3 separate regions of the Homo sapiens genome follow, and all the other regions are linked to region 1. The links are contacts of gene promoters, found by promoter capture Hi-C in human tissues and cell types (Jung and others, 2019). All regions are on one chromosome and are shown on one strand. Each heading gives the region's core, a stretch centred on a gene start or on the middle of the fragment in contact. The rest is flanking DNA. Distances are from core to core; before and after follow the strand shown. Region 1 holds the start of GLYAT (glycine-N-acyltransferase). Region 2 has its middle 47 kb from the start of GLYAT. Region 3 has its middle 44 kb from the start of GLYAT.

Region 1 (4,843 bases), core at 1,348-3,847:
CCAGCTCATACAATAGAAGTTCTTCTTTTACACTCCAAAATCAGCTTCTGAGAAGATGGAGGTGATTTGCTTCAGTTCCTTTGATCAGTTATCAAGTTATGTGTTAGTATTTGGCTATGTGGCTATATGTTTATTTTTTATTTTTAGAGACAGGGTCTTGCTATGTTGCCCAGCCTGGTCTCAAACTCCCAGGCTCAAGCAATCCTTCTGCTTACCATCCTGAGTAGCTGGGACTAACAGGCATGCACCACCGTACCATGCCTGGCTCATTTGACTATATTTTAATATAGTGTTATCAGGTATAATTTCTGAGTAACAGATGTTCCATATGGAGGCAAACCTCATCCGACACTGTGATGCAAGTATGTGTGCACTAATATATAGAATAAACTAGTCTAAAAAGTCCAAAATAGATTTTTGACATGTAATGAATTAAGGGAGTTATTAAGAGTCTTTTTGCAAGGGGCAGGGGGCAGTGTACATATATTTCTGCAATATAAATTTTTCTCTCCACTGTCTCATGAGTCTTATGAAAACTGACTTGACCTAGAACCTTAGGGAAAAAATATTCACTAAATATTTCATGCACGCATTTGTATATGCATAATGCACTGTATTAAATAATTATTTACTAAATAAAGCATTTCTATGTGCTTACCATATATCGGGAAGTTGTCTAAGCAATTATGACTATACATATCTAAATTAAGAAAAGACAATCTTAGTTCTGATGCTACTTAGGATTTATAAGGCTGGAAAAAGCATTGCTCCCACAGTAGTGATGAGAAAAATCTGAATAAACTACAAAATCAGTCACGTTCTGAAATTCATTAGGGATCTGAGGGCATGGGCAATCAAGTATCCTGAATTCCAATTAAGCATAGGCCCTGCTTAGGTAAGAAAGGACACAGGAGGACCACTTAATTTTTCTTTAAGACCCTGCAAAGATTCCTAAGGGGAATTATTTAATTCCCTTTATTGATACAGAAATGGAGGCAAGAAAAGGTGAAATCATTTGCTCAAGGTCACACAATAGGTAAGTCGTACAATCAAGATGTCAGCCTGTTAGTTTGGGGGTAGTCATGCTGCAAGCCACTCTGCTATGCTACCTCTGTCATCATTGCTAGCACTTCAATTCAGACCCCAGAGAAAAACCACTTAGAATACTAAGACTGATGCTGGAGCTCCCGAACCTTTTCCCTTGTATCTGATCCCAAAATGTGTGAGGTTTATGTCTGTTATCACATATAACATAGTAAGAATAAGAACCACAGAGTCAAACAAAAGCAAGAAAAATCCTTGGTTACCTAGTACAACACACTTTTTACAGCTAGGGCAACAGCCCAGGGAGGTTAAGAGACTCTAGTCAAAGATTTGAGGGTGAGAGACACCACTGAATCCTGGTCTATTGCCTGGCTGTGTGAGTGTAGGAGCTAAAGTGACAGAATAGGAGGGGTCTGGTTTCTGGGCTTGGGATAAAGGAGTACCCCACTCTTTTGTTGCAGTTAGATATATCCTTTGTGAGATATGAACCCTATTGGAGTCAAGAGATCCACCGGGTTAATAAATGATAGAACAATCTCAGTCGCTTTGAAGAAAGAGTAATGGAAGGTTATAATGACTTCAATCTCAGGGGAAAAGATGGAGAATTAATGTTCTAGGAGTGGCAGGGCTCCTAGACAGTACAGAGAAAAATATGTGAAAACTTGCTCTGTGCTGATCCATTAAGTGAAGGAACACACACACACTTTTTGTCCCTCTTTCTCAACCTAGCCTCTTGTGTCCCTGCTCCTCTGATTAGAGTGTCTGTTGCTTCCTCTACAATAAAGATATTTACTAACCTGGGAATGAGGTGGTGAGAACAAGGACCTGGAGAGTGTCAAACTCCCCATCTTGGCTGTTTTACACAGTGAAATTGAGGCTCAAATTATCTTTGCTGTGAACCCTCCTTTCTTTTCTGAGCAAGTGGAAAGTATAGTAATTAGGACTTCGGAGTGAAAAAGCTCTGGGCTTAACATCTAACCAGTTCAACCATGCTGAGATCTCAATGGTCCTTCTCTATAAAAGTGAGACTAAGAAGTGCTCACATTGAATCATTGTCAGAATGTTTCACTGCAGCTTCAAAATGGGCATGGGAGGGGGCACAACTTGTCTTTAAAAAGGAAGATTCTAACAGCTTTCATCACTCCATGCAAGTAATTTGCTATTTTATTGCATTCTGCAAATCAGATATCATTCATATCTTTCCCACTGCCTTGCTTCTATTACAGATACTTGAATGGGAAAGAGGTGAGGGTAGTGCCTACATAATCTGACCCTCCTTCCAGTATCTGGCCTGTTGGTTTCACACAGCTTTGGTTTTCATGGTATTTCCATGACCTGTGAGGACAAAAAGCATTGTGATGTTTTAAAAAGAGAAGCTCAGGGGCATACAGCCAGCCTCTCAACCATGCAGAGCCAATTACTTCAACATGGGCCCGTGAGAGGCAGGGCTGAATTCCACTAGAACTGACACCAGATTCTTTTGCCAGCCTAGTACAAGGTCCACATTACAAGCCAAAGCTCAGAAATTTCTGGAGGTGGTGTATCAAAATTTACTCTGCGAGACTCTGCTGAACTGGCTGCATCAGGGAGAAATTTCATCTCCCAGAAGGGTGTTGCTCATCGTTTCTTCCCGGAAACATCTGCAGAGACTAGCTTTTCAGGTGAGGACTCATTACAAAGTATCAGATACATAGGATGAACAAGTCTAGAGATCTAATGTACAACATGAGAACTATAGTTAATAGAATTGCATTGTATATGGGATCCATGCTACATGAGTGGAGTTTAGCTGCTCTTTACATAAAAACAACGACAAAAAATAAGTAACTATGTGAAGTAATAGATATATTAATTTGCTTCATAATGGTAATGTTTTCACTATCTGTATGCTCTCATAACATCATATTGTATACTTTAAATATCCACAATAAAATTTATTTTTTTAATGTAATTATTGCTTTGTGACACCTCTTCCACTTAAGTGAGTCAAATTAAAGTGCCCGTATTGTGTTATGCTCAGAATATGCAGACAACTATGCTCAAGGAAAAGGAGTAACTTCCACTTAAGAAACACATATCTGACAACTATTTTGTCAATGGCAGTTTGCTAGCTACCATGAAAATCCTTAGAAGTTTGTGCTCTCGACTAATAAATGAATAAAGAAAGATCTGAGAGCTTCTTGGAAGCAGGTGGATGAATAGAATACTGAGTGTGTGGAGACACCAGAAAAATTACTATTTTTAATCCTGGTCACATTATAAGGGAGGCAGTTTTTTCCTTACACTACTACTAAGAAGTTTGTTGCACTGAAAGTGAGAGAGGAAATAAGTAGATCAATAAGACAAGAATACAGACAAGATTTATTGTTTATTTAAATTATACAGAAAACAAATTTTACTCTAAAGATTTAATCTACAACAGTACTACCACCATTTACTTATTTATTCCTGTTTGCCTTTGTTCTCTCTTAAATTTGAACTTTATGTGTTGTATGTGAACTGTTTTGTGTCCTATATTTTCTCATTTTATTTGAACACTCTCCCATGTGTCTATACATATTATATATTATGTCTGTAGGCATTATGTTAATGCCTTAGGGTTGCATCACTCTGTTGGAACATATTTTATGTTATCTTCCCCTATTGAGGCACATAGAGATTTTGTTCAGACTTGCTTATGTTCATGTGACTTTATAAAATTCTGTTTAGAGTTTTTGTTTTGTTTTGTATTTAGAGACACTCTGTTACCCAGACTGGAGTGCAGTGGTATGAACATAACTCATTGTAACCTTTAACTTGCTGTGGGCTCAAGTGAGTCCAGGGTTAGATTCCACTGGAACTGACATCAGAATTTTTTGCCAACTTAGTACAAGGTCTGCATTACAAGCTGCAACTCAGAAATTTCTGGAAGAGTTGTAACAAAACTCACTCTGTGAGACTGTGGTCAGATTATGTAGGCATAATCTTCCTCTCCTTCCCATTCAAGTAGCTGCAGTAAAAGCAAGGTAGTGGGAAAGATCTGAATGAGGTCTGATTTGCAGAATGTATTCTTTTTTTCTGCTTACACAAAACAGCAAATTACTTGCATGGCATGATGAAAACTATTAGAATCGTCCCACCTTAGCCTCTTGAGTAGCTAGGGCTACAGGTGTGTGTCACCATACCCAACTAATTTTTATTTTTGTAGAGATTGGGGTCTTGCTGTGTTGACCAGGCTGGTCTCAAGCTTTTGCCCTCAATTAATCCTCCCTCCTTGGCCTCTGAAAGTGCTGGAATTACAGGTGCAAGCCACCATGCTCAGCCTAGAGTTGTTTTCTTCTTTTAAATTGTTTTCTTTAGATTAATTTCCATTTCTGTAATAACTGGACCAGGATCAAAGATTCTGAAGTTTATGCCCGGGAATGCTACTCATTGCCCAGTGCTGCCAGCTACCATTATTGTGTCAGATTTCTTGGAAGAACCTCAGTGTCAGTAGCTTTCAGTTTACCCCAACCAAGCATGAGAGCCATACCTCTTTGTTAGTTTGTAAGTACATCCTTAGAGGGTGGTTCCAAACTCTACTCTTCAGAAAATATAGTAATATCACACCCCACAGACTTGACATTAAGCTCTACTTTAACTCTACTTTGTTACTTCCTTCTGAGTTGCATCTAGAGAAAAGACAAGATTAGCCTTTAGGAATGTTATACTTTTATCATCCTAAGACCCTTAGATATGAGATATGGTCTGGAGTTTTCTTCAAGATATAATGTAGTACAAAATAGCTGGAAACTTTTCTCATGTCCAGAATATATTATGC
Region 2 (4,533 bases), core at 1,933-4,432, 46 kb before region 1:
CAAGTCCATGGCTCCCCTGCTGTGTGCAGCCTTGGAACTTGGTGCCCTGCATCCCAGCCACTCCAGCTGTGACTAAAAGGGGCCAATGTACAACTCGGGCCATGACTTCAGAGGGTGCAAGTCCCAAGCCTTAACAGCTTTCATGTGTTGTTGGTCCTGTGGGTGCACAGAAGACAAGGATGGAGGTTTAGGAACCTCTGCCTAGATTTCATGGAAATGCCTGCATGTCCAGGCAGAGGTGTGCTGCAGGGGTAGAGCCCTCATAGAGAACCTTAGCTAGGGCAGAGGAGATGTGAGATTGGAGCCCCCACACAGAGTTCCCACTGGGGCACTGCCTAGTGGAGCTGTGAGAAGAGGGCCACTGTCCTCCAGACTCCAAAATGGTAGGTCCACTGACAGCTTTCACCCACACCTGGAAAAGCTGCAGACACTCAACTCCAGCCTGTAAAAGGAGGCAGATAGGGAGCTGTACCCTGCAAAGCCACAGGGTCAGAGCTGCCCAAGGCCATGGGAGCCTACCTCTTGCATCAGCATGACCTGGATGTGAGACATGGTGTCAAAGGAGATCATTTTGGAACTTGAAGGTTTAATGAGTACCCTATTGGATTTTGAACTTGCATGAGGCCTGAGGCCCTTTGTTTTGGCCAATTTCTCCCATTTTGAATGGGTGTATTTAACCAATGCCTGTAGTCCCCATTGTATGTAGAAAGAAAATAACTTGCTTGCAATTTTATAGGCTCATAGGCAGAAAGTTCTTGCCTTGTCTCAGATAAGACTTTGGATTGCAGACTTTGAGTTAATGCTGAAATGAGTTAAGACTTTGGGGGACTGTTGGGAAGGCATGATTGGTTTTGAAATGTGAGGACATGAGATTTGAGAGGGGCCAGGGGCAGAATAATATGGTTTGGCTGTGTACCCACCCAAATCTCATCTTGATTTGTAGCTCCCATAATCCTGATTTGTCCTGGGAGGGACCTGGTAGGAGGTAATTGAATCATGGCAGTGGGTTTCTTATGTATGTTCTCATGATAGTGAATAAGTCTCATGATATGGGATGGTTTTATACAGGACAGTTCTTCTGCACATGCACTCATGTCTGCCACCATGTAAGACGTGTTTTTTTCTCCTCCTTCACTTTCTGCCATGATTGTGAGGCCTCTCAGCCATGTGAAACTGTGAGTCCATTGAAATTTCTTTATAAATTACACAGTTTTGGGTATGTCTTTATTAGCAGCATGAGAACAGACTAATGCAGTAGATTTTTTATTACTGATTCAGTTTTGGAACTTGTTAATGGTTGGTTAAGGGTTTCAACTTCTTTCTAATACAATCTTGGGAGATTGTATGTTTCCAGGAGTTTATCTTTTTTTTTCTTTATGTTTTCTAGTCTGTATGCATAGAAGTGTTCATAATAGTCTATGAGGGTTTTTGTGTTTCTATGGGAGCAGTGCTAATGTCCTCCTTCATCATTTCTGCTTGCATTTATTTGGATCTTATCTCTTTTTTTATTACCCTAGATAGTGGTGTATCAATCTTATTATTCTTTCAATGAACCAACTTTTGGTTTTACTGATCTTTTTGTATGTTTTGTTCACATCTCCATTTTGTTCAGTTCAGCTTGGATTTTGTTCATTTCTTTTCTTCTGCTAGCTTCTGGTTTGGTTTGCCCTTGTTTTTCTAGTTCCTCTGGGTGTGATGTCAAGCTGTTATTTTGAGACATTTCTGACTTTTTGATGTGGATAATTAGTGCTATGAACATTTCTCTTACCACTGCTTTGTCTATATCTCAGAGATTCTGATATGTTGTATCTTTGTTTTCATTAGTTTCAAAAAAATTGCTTTATGCCTAAATTTTATTGTTTACCCAAAAGTCATTCAGGAGCAGGTTATTTAATTTGCATTTAAATATATGGTTTTGAGATATCTCATTGGTATTGACTTCTATTTTTATTGTGCTGTGATCTGATACTGTGGTTGGTATGATTTGGTTATTTTTGAATTTGTTGAGAATTGCTTTATGGCTGAGAATGTGGTTGATTTTAGAGTATGTGCCATGTGCAGAGTAGGAGAATGTATATTCTCTTGTTTGGAGTGGTAAGTGGTATGTTCTGTAGATGTCTGTGAAGTCTATTTGGTCAACCATTGAATTTAGATTCTGAATATTCTTGTTAGTTTTCTGCCTCAATTATTTGTCTAATACTGTCAGTGGGGTGTTGAAATCTCCCACTATTATTTTGTGGTTATCTAAGTTTCTTCACAGGTCTCTAAGAACTTGTTTCATAAATCTGGGTGCTCCGGTGTTAGATATATATATATATATATATATATGTATAGAGAATAGATATACATCTATATATAATATTTAGTATATAATATTAAATATATTTAAATAATAAATAATATGTAATATGTATACTATTTAAGTCTTCTTGTTGAATTGAACCCTTTATCATGATGTAATGTCCTTCTTTATCCTTTTGATCATGGTTTGTTTAAAATGTACTTTGAGATAAGAATAGTAACCCTTTTTTTGTTTTCTGTTTGCTTGATAGATCTTCTTCCATCCCTTTACTTTGAGCCTATGATTGTCATTATATGTGACATGGATCTCCTGAAGAGAGCATATAGTTGGGTCTTACTTCTTTATCTAATTTGCCACTCTGCACCCTTTAAGTGGAATCATTTAACTTGTTTATATTCAAAGTTAATACTGATATGTGTGGATGTGATTCTGTTATTGTGTTGTTAACTAGTTGTTATGTAGGCTTGATTGTGTAGTTCCTTTATAGTGTCAATGGGCTGTGTACTTCACTGCGTTTTTGCAGTGGCCAGTAATGGTCTTTTGATTCCATGTGTAGTGCTCCCTTAAGGACTCCTTTTAAGTCAGGTCTGGTAATAAATTCCCTTAACATTTGCTTGTCTGAAAAGCATTTTATTTCTCTTTTGCTCATGAATTTTAGTATAGCTGTATAGGAACTTCTTGATTGGAATTTCTTTTCTTCAAGAATGCTGAATATAGGCCCCCAATCTCTTCTGCCTTTTAGAGTTTCTGCTGAAAAGTTTTCTGCTGGCATGATGATGTTCCCCTTGTGGGTAGGTGACATGCCCCTTCTCTTTAGCTGCCTTTAATATTTTTTCTTTTGCATTGACCTTGGAGAATCCGATGACTATATGTCTCAAGGATGATCATCTTGTATAGTATCTTGCAGGGGTTCTGTGAATTTCCTAAATTTCTTTGTCAACCCGTTTAACTAGGTTGAGGAGATTTTGATGGACAATGTTTTGCAACTTGCTTACTCTCTTTTTTAGGGATGCCAATGAGTCATAGGTTTGGTCTCTTTATATAATCCCATATATCTCAAGGTTTTGTTCATTCTTTTTTATTTTTGTCTGACGAAGTTAAATCAAAGAACCAATCTTTGTTGTGAGACAATCAAAGACCAAAGAGATCGATAAATGTTCAGGAGAGTCCATTAAGGTGATCACCAGCCCAGACGGACATGTGTCCAGAAAGCCTGAGCCCCGAAGAAAGAGCTTCTACTACTTTTAAATATCTTAAGGCAGGAACTACGTGAAGCAGGAAGCAAGTTACAGAAGCAAGAAACAACGGCGGCATTGCAACATTTCTTACATTTTGAGAAAGACATGACTTGCAACCTAAACTTATCGGTCTTGTGACCCTGCAGTCGTGCAGGAACTCGCTGGGCCTGTAATAAACTTTGAAGAATGTGGAGTTGGGGAGCATAGATAAGGTCCACTGTCCACAGAGAGAAGACAGGCTGTTAATATTCCCTTGTAACTTGAGTGTAAGGGGAGGTCACACTTTGCAGCAACTTTAAGAGGATTTTAAAACTTCTATTACTACTACTATTAGGTTATAGTTGATTTCATTAATTCCTTCTTCATTCCCCCCTTTTGGTGCATGACACAAATGTAGATTAGTAAAGAGAACCACAGTTAGCTATTTTTTCTTGAGTGGGTACATACTCATCTTGGGATACTGGTTGGTACTTTTGCAGAGCCACTATTCATGTGGTGGTATGTCTGGCTACTATTGCTTCTATGGTGGATTGGATGCTTCTGATGAGAAGTGGCAGGAGACAAGAAAGCAGGAGGCATACACCTATTATGGCCACAAAGCCTATTATTAAAGTTTTAAAGCCTCCAAACCATGAAAACCATCCTCCAAAGGGTGAACTCGGGTTCCAACCAGACCACATCTGGGCCAGAACATGAGCTAACTTTAGCATCCTGGCAGTGATTTTCATGACAGCTTTTCCATTGTCATCAATTTGTAAAAAGCAATTCATTAAATTAAGTTTTCCACAAACTCCTCCTTCTGAAGCTAAAAGATAATCCAGGGCTAACCTGTTCTGATAAATGGCATCTCTCATCTGGGTCGCCTGTATGGCTAGCAAGTCTAAGGCTCAGGCTGTTTCAATGACTATAATTTCCAGAACTGCTTGCAACCTTGTGATGCAACTTAACATATAAATAGGAGTATGGTATCTCCATGACCCATTTTGTGCCCAG
Region 3 (4,710 bases), core at 1,195-3,694, 44 kb after region 1:
TATATAAACCAAAAACAGTCCCTGGAGTGACAGACACCCGTGAAAATTACCTAGAAATAAATAAAATGGAGCTTAAATTCGAGAGCCCTAGAAGCAGATGAACATGACCTCAACTCTAGCCCTACTTTGTGCTTGCTTTGTAACCTCATGCAAGTTCCTCTTGCTCTCTGAGGCCCATTCTGCTCACCTGAGTAATCCTCAGAAAGTTTGTGAGGATAGACAAAGATTATCTGCTTAATCAAAATTTAGTCATGCTCCTGAACCTTCTGCTAGGCCCATCTGTGTGCTTCCTCATAAAATCCAGTTTTATCAAACAACCTTGCTAAGTCAGTTTAGCAATAATCTACCACCCTCAATATTTCATCCTCCACCATCCCCCAGGTGATGTCTCATCAGCTCGGCCTGTCTTCAGCAAGAATTCTGTTAGGTCAGTTTAGCCAAAATTCCCCTTACTCCTGATATTTCTTCTGAGTGATTTTCCATCCACTGACTTCCACCCTGCTCTTGGCTGTAAAAATTTCTACTTGCCCACGCAGTATTCAGAGTTAACCCCAGTCTCTCTCCCCTATGGCAAAGTCCCATTGCAGTGGTCCCTATACCATTGCAATAGTCCTGAATGAAGTCTTCCTTACCAAGCTTTGCAAATATCATTGAATATTTTTTTCTTTGACAGGATGAAAAGAGATAATGTATGCACAGTACAGGAACAAAGTGTGTCATCAGTAAATAATTACGTTCACTATGATTAACCAGTTGGATGAGGATCTTCTCATATGATTAATTGAACCAGCAGGCAAATGGAATTATCTTTACAGTGACTCTCTTGACTGCCAACTCCACTGGGACACATCTGATGTTTAAAATGCAGAATGTGTGTGTGTGTATGTGCACATGCCCGTTTGAGGTAGCTTTTATGTCACTCACATGTCACCGGGTTTAGCAACATGTGATGCCATTTTCTTTTCATTAAGCAGAGAAGGAAGAAGTTTCTTCAGTTTCCAGACATAAAGGTGAGTCGTTCCAATCATGAGACAGTGAGAGACTTGGCAGCTGCCACATTCTTAATCACTTCATTTAAGCTGGACTGAGTCACTATAAGGGAAACAAAAGAGAATGTGTATGTCCAGAGAGAACTCAGGGGAAGTCTGTAGGTAGAATGCACACATTCCACAAACATTTGCTGAGTACAGTGTTAGGCACTATGCTCCTTGATATACAAGGGTGTACAAACCAGGCAATCCCTGACCTTACAGATCTAATAAATAAATAGTCTAATAAGAGAGACAGATATCACATGTGCAACCACATAAATAAATGCATACTTAGAAATTGTGGGCTGGGCACAGTGGCTCACGCTGTAATTCCAGCACTTTGGGAGGCTGAGGCAGGTGGATCACTTGAAGGCATGAGTTTGAGACCAGCCTGGTCAACATGGTGAAACCCCTTTTCTACTAAAAATACAAAAATTAGCCAGGCATAGTGGTGTGCACCTGTAATCCCAGCTACTCAAGAGGCTGAGGCAGGAGAATCGCTTGAACCTGGGAGGCAGAAGTTGCAGTGAGCTGAGACTATCCCACTGTACTCCAGCTTGGGCAACAGAGCAAGACTCCATCTCAAAAAAAAAAAATTGTGGTGCTTTAAAGGGAAAAGTGAAAGTAGCTACAAATCAATATAAAATAGAGTCTCAATTCACTTGAGGGAGTTGCAGGAGGTCCCTCTTAGAAAGGTAGGTGAGATGTTCTAGGCAGTGGCATGAAAAATAGATGGGATTCAGAGGTACGGACAGGTTTAGAGGTCCAGTTTTACCCTGAAATAACTTCGACTCATTCAGGTGATCACTTGACCACCTGAACTACTGTCCTGCTTATTCACAGAGCTGTATTCAAAAGCAAATGAGATGCTTTCTGTCAAAGTGTTACATAATCTATAAGTGCTTTTAATCTTATTCTTTAAAATAAATGCCAAAAAGAAAACTTTGATCCCATTCTACAACTACAAGGTTTCTAGGGGATCACAGCAAATCTGAAAATGACATTACCAACCCTATGTCAAATTGAGTAAGTTTCTTCCTCAATTCCTCACCCTCCCACCCACTCCCATTCCCACCCTTCTCTTTCTACTGCTCTATATTCAAAAGCACAAATTCCTCAAAGACACCTTCCAGTGTTCCACCTATCATAGAGCCTTCCTTAATACACTAGATTGGAAAATGATTTATCTCTCCTCTGAAACTCTCCAGCACTTTACCCATACCTTTCTGGGAACTTCCTAGTCTACCTTGTTTCAAATTGTTTTCTGCACAGTTGGTGGCACAGGCAGGTAGCTGACTTCAAGGGAAAGATTGCCTTGCTCCTGGATGACTAAAAGCCAGTGCTGAGAAGTAAAGCACTGATGGGGACCTTGAACTCGGATTAAGCAGCTGAGAAGAACTCTAATGAGGACATTTTCTTTCTTAATGCTACAGGTAAATAAGCCCATTTATTTTTACCTGTTTTGTATTATAATCTGGTAAAGAGAAAAAGGAGCTTTCCAGGAAGAAAAGAATCTAGAAAAGAGGGATTAAAAATGGGATGAAGGCTGGGCACACTGGCTCACGCCTGTAATCCCAGCACTTTGGGAGGTCAAGGTGAGAGGATCACTTGAGGCCAGTTCAAGATTAGCCTGGGCAACATAGTGAGACCCTGGTCCCTATGAAAGAAAAATGTTTTTAATTTAGCCAGGCAAGATGGCATGGGCTTGTAGTTCCAGTTACTTGGGAGGCTGAGGTGGGAGGATCACTTGAGCCCAGGATTTTGAGGTGGCAATTAGCCATGATCATGCTACTGCACTCCAGCCTGGGTAACAGAGCAAGACTCTGTTTCTAAAATAAAATTAAAAGTAAACAAATAAAAGTAGGTGCAAAAAGGTCATGAAAAAATTTCTCCAGAAGGCTGGGCATGGTGGCTCATGCCTGTAATTCCAACACTTTGGGAGGGTGAGTTGGGAGAATCACTTGACACCAGCAGTTCTTACCTGCCTGGACAACATAGTGAGACTCTGTCTCTATTTTAAAAAAAATAAATACATAATAAAAAATATAAAAAATTTCTCCAGAGACCTCTGTGGTTTTTCAGGGATGGCATAAATGACATTAGAGGGTGACATCAGTGGGAATGATGGAATAAGGACCTCTAAAAATCCTCTCCTTCATCAAAGTGACAAGAACACTGAAAAAAGCCAAAATAAACATTTTCCAAAACTCCAAAAATTAACCAAAAATTTGCAACAATCTGAAGATTTATTCCAGAGAAACAGCTGAATCTGTTTGTTTTTTTGTCCATGACCTGTTGAAAAAGCAGCTGAAACTTTCTGAGAATAGTGAGCTTTGTGGTATTGTGACTTGCCCTATCCGTAGTGGCCTCTCCGCAGCTCCGTGGTATAAACCAACAGTCCTACAATCATGGTGAAAGCCAGGAGCCTAGCAACTATTGGACAGGCAGTATGGGTTTGGAGCTCCCTGAAAGCAATATTCTCAGAGGTTTGTTGCTATTTGACATGTCTGGCAGTTCCCTGTGAACCCCAACGCTCACAGCTTTTTTCAGATGATCTTAGTCAGGGCTTGCTTACTGTGCAAAGCCATTTCCCCCAGTCATCTGCTGAAAACAGTCAGCATCGATTAATACATCATAGCTGCCTGACATGGCAACGATATTTAGGGCAAACAAAAACCTAAACAAAACATTTAAAAGGATCAGCTGGGGGATGAGATGTCCATAGACAGCTTTGAAAGCTCTGACAAATTTCTAAGAATCTAGAAGGCTACATGTTTGCATATAGCTGTGGACATGCCCAGGGAAGTACGAGAAGACTCTAACAAGATCTCCGATCCAATTGACCTTGAGGCTGCACACACACAGGAAATGAAGGTTAAGGCAGAGTTGTAAACTACCTGCCTAAAAACTGAAAGCATGACCTAATACAAACACAAAGCCCCTCAGCAAAGGCTAGGAGGTGAATGGTTCCAGACATTTAAGGATCGCTAAGCTAATTGATCAGAGACTTCAGTGGTCACTTTATGAGTATGCTTAAAACAACTTAACTGTACACTTTACAAGGGTAAATTTTATGGGTGTATTATATTGCAATAAAAAAACTATTCATAATTAATGCACAAAAGATAAGCTAAAACAATAATTGGCAAAGGTATGATAGGCAATGCATAGGAGGAATATGAGTGGTCAACAAACATATGCAAACTTATGTTAATCATCAATCTTAAGAGAAATCATTAATTTTCTATTAAATGAGATTTTAAAAGAAAGAAAGAATTATAGAGCCTGCTCTCTGACACTGACCCTTGAACTAAGTAGGCAGTATTACCTCTCCCTGCTCGGAGGAAGGCAATACCTAAAACCTTTGGCCTTCATCTTGTCCAAAGACTCCCCCACTGATACCCACAAATTTATAAATTTGTATAAACCTCTTTGCCCCTATCATTGGTTGACTAGAATAAATACCACACACAAGCCAGCCTGGTACCAAATTTTATGCCCCCACCTTGGTTCCCAAAGGTTGTGCCCACACAAGGCCTATCTCTTTCCCACAAATGGCACCCAATGTTCCTGCAACTTGAGTCTACAAATGTTGCTTCCAGTTATGATGCCTGGCTGGCCAAGGACCTCTGGTAAATTCTCTGCATTCTTGGAATAGATTTGGTACGTGTTGGTGTAG

The links. The method cuts DNA at HindIII sites, captures the fragments that hold promoters and counts their contacts. A contact is called where the count stands out against the background at its distance.
Region 2: a contact is called between a fragment that was not itself captured here and the fragment with the promoter of GLYAT in region 1, in 2 of the 25 tissues and cell types used here (adrenal gland and neural progenitor cells).
Region 3: a fragment that was not itself captured here is called in contact with the fragment with the promoter of GLYAT in region 1 in 1 of the 25 tissues and cell types used here (neural progenitor cells).

Annotation. Positions count from the first base shown.
Region 1 is chr11:58,729,697-58,734,539 of GRCh38, reverse strand. GLYAT (glycine-N-acyltransferase) reads left to right here and starts at 2,597. Exons shown (of 6, transcript NM_201648.3): 1 at 2,597-2,705. The HindIII fragment of the contact is 13,891 bases long and covers 1-4,843 here.
Region 2 is chr11:58,776,222-58,780,754 of GRCh38, reverse strand. No RefSeq gene overlaps it. Among named protein-coding and RNA genes, the nearest start is that of GLYAT, 47 kb to the right of the region's middle. The HindIII fragment of the contact is 7,492 bases long and covers 1-4,533 here.
Region 3 is chr11:58,685,351-58,690,060 of GRCh38, reverse strand. No RefSeq gene overlaps it. Among named protein-coding and RNA genes, the nearest start is that of GLYAT, 44 kb to the left of the region's middle. The HindIII fragment of the contact is 6,138 bases long and covers 1-4,710 here.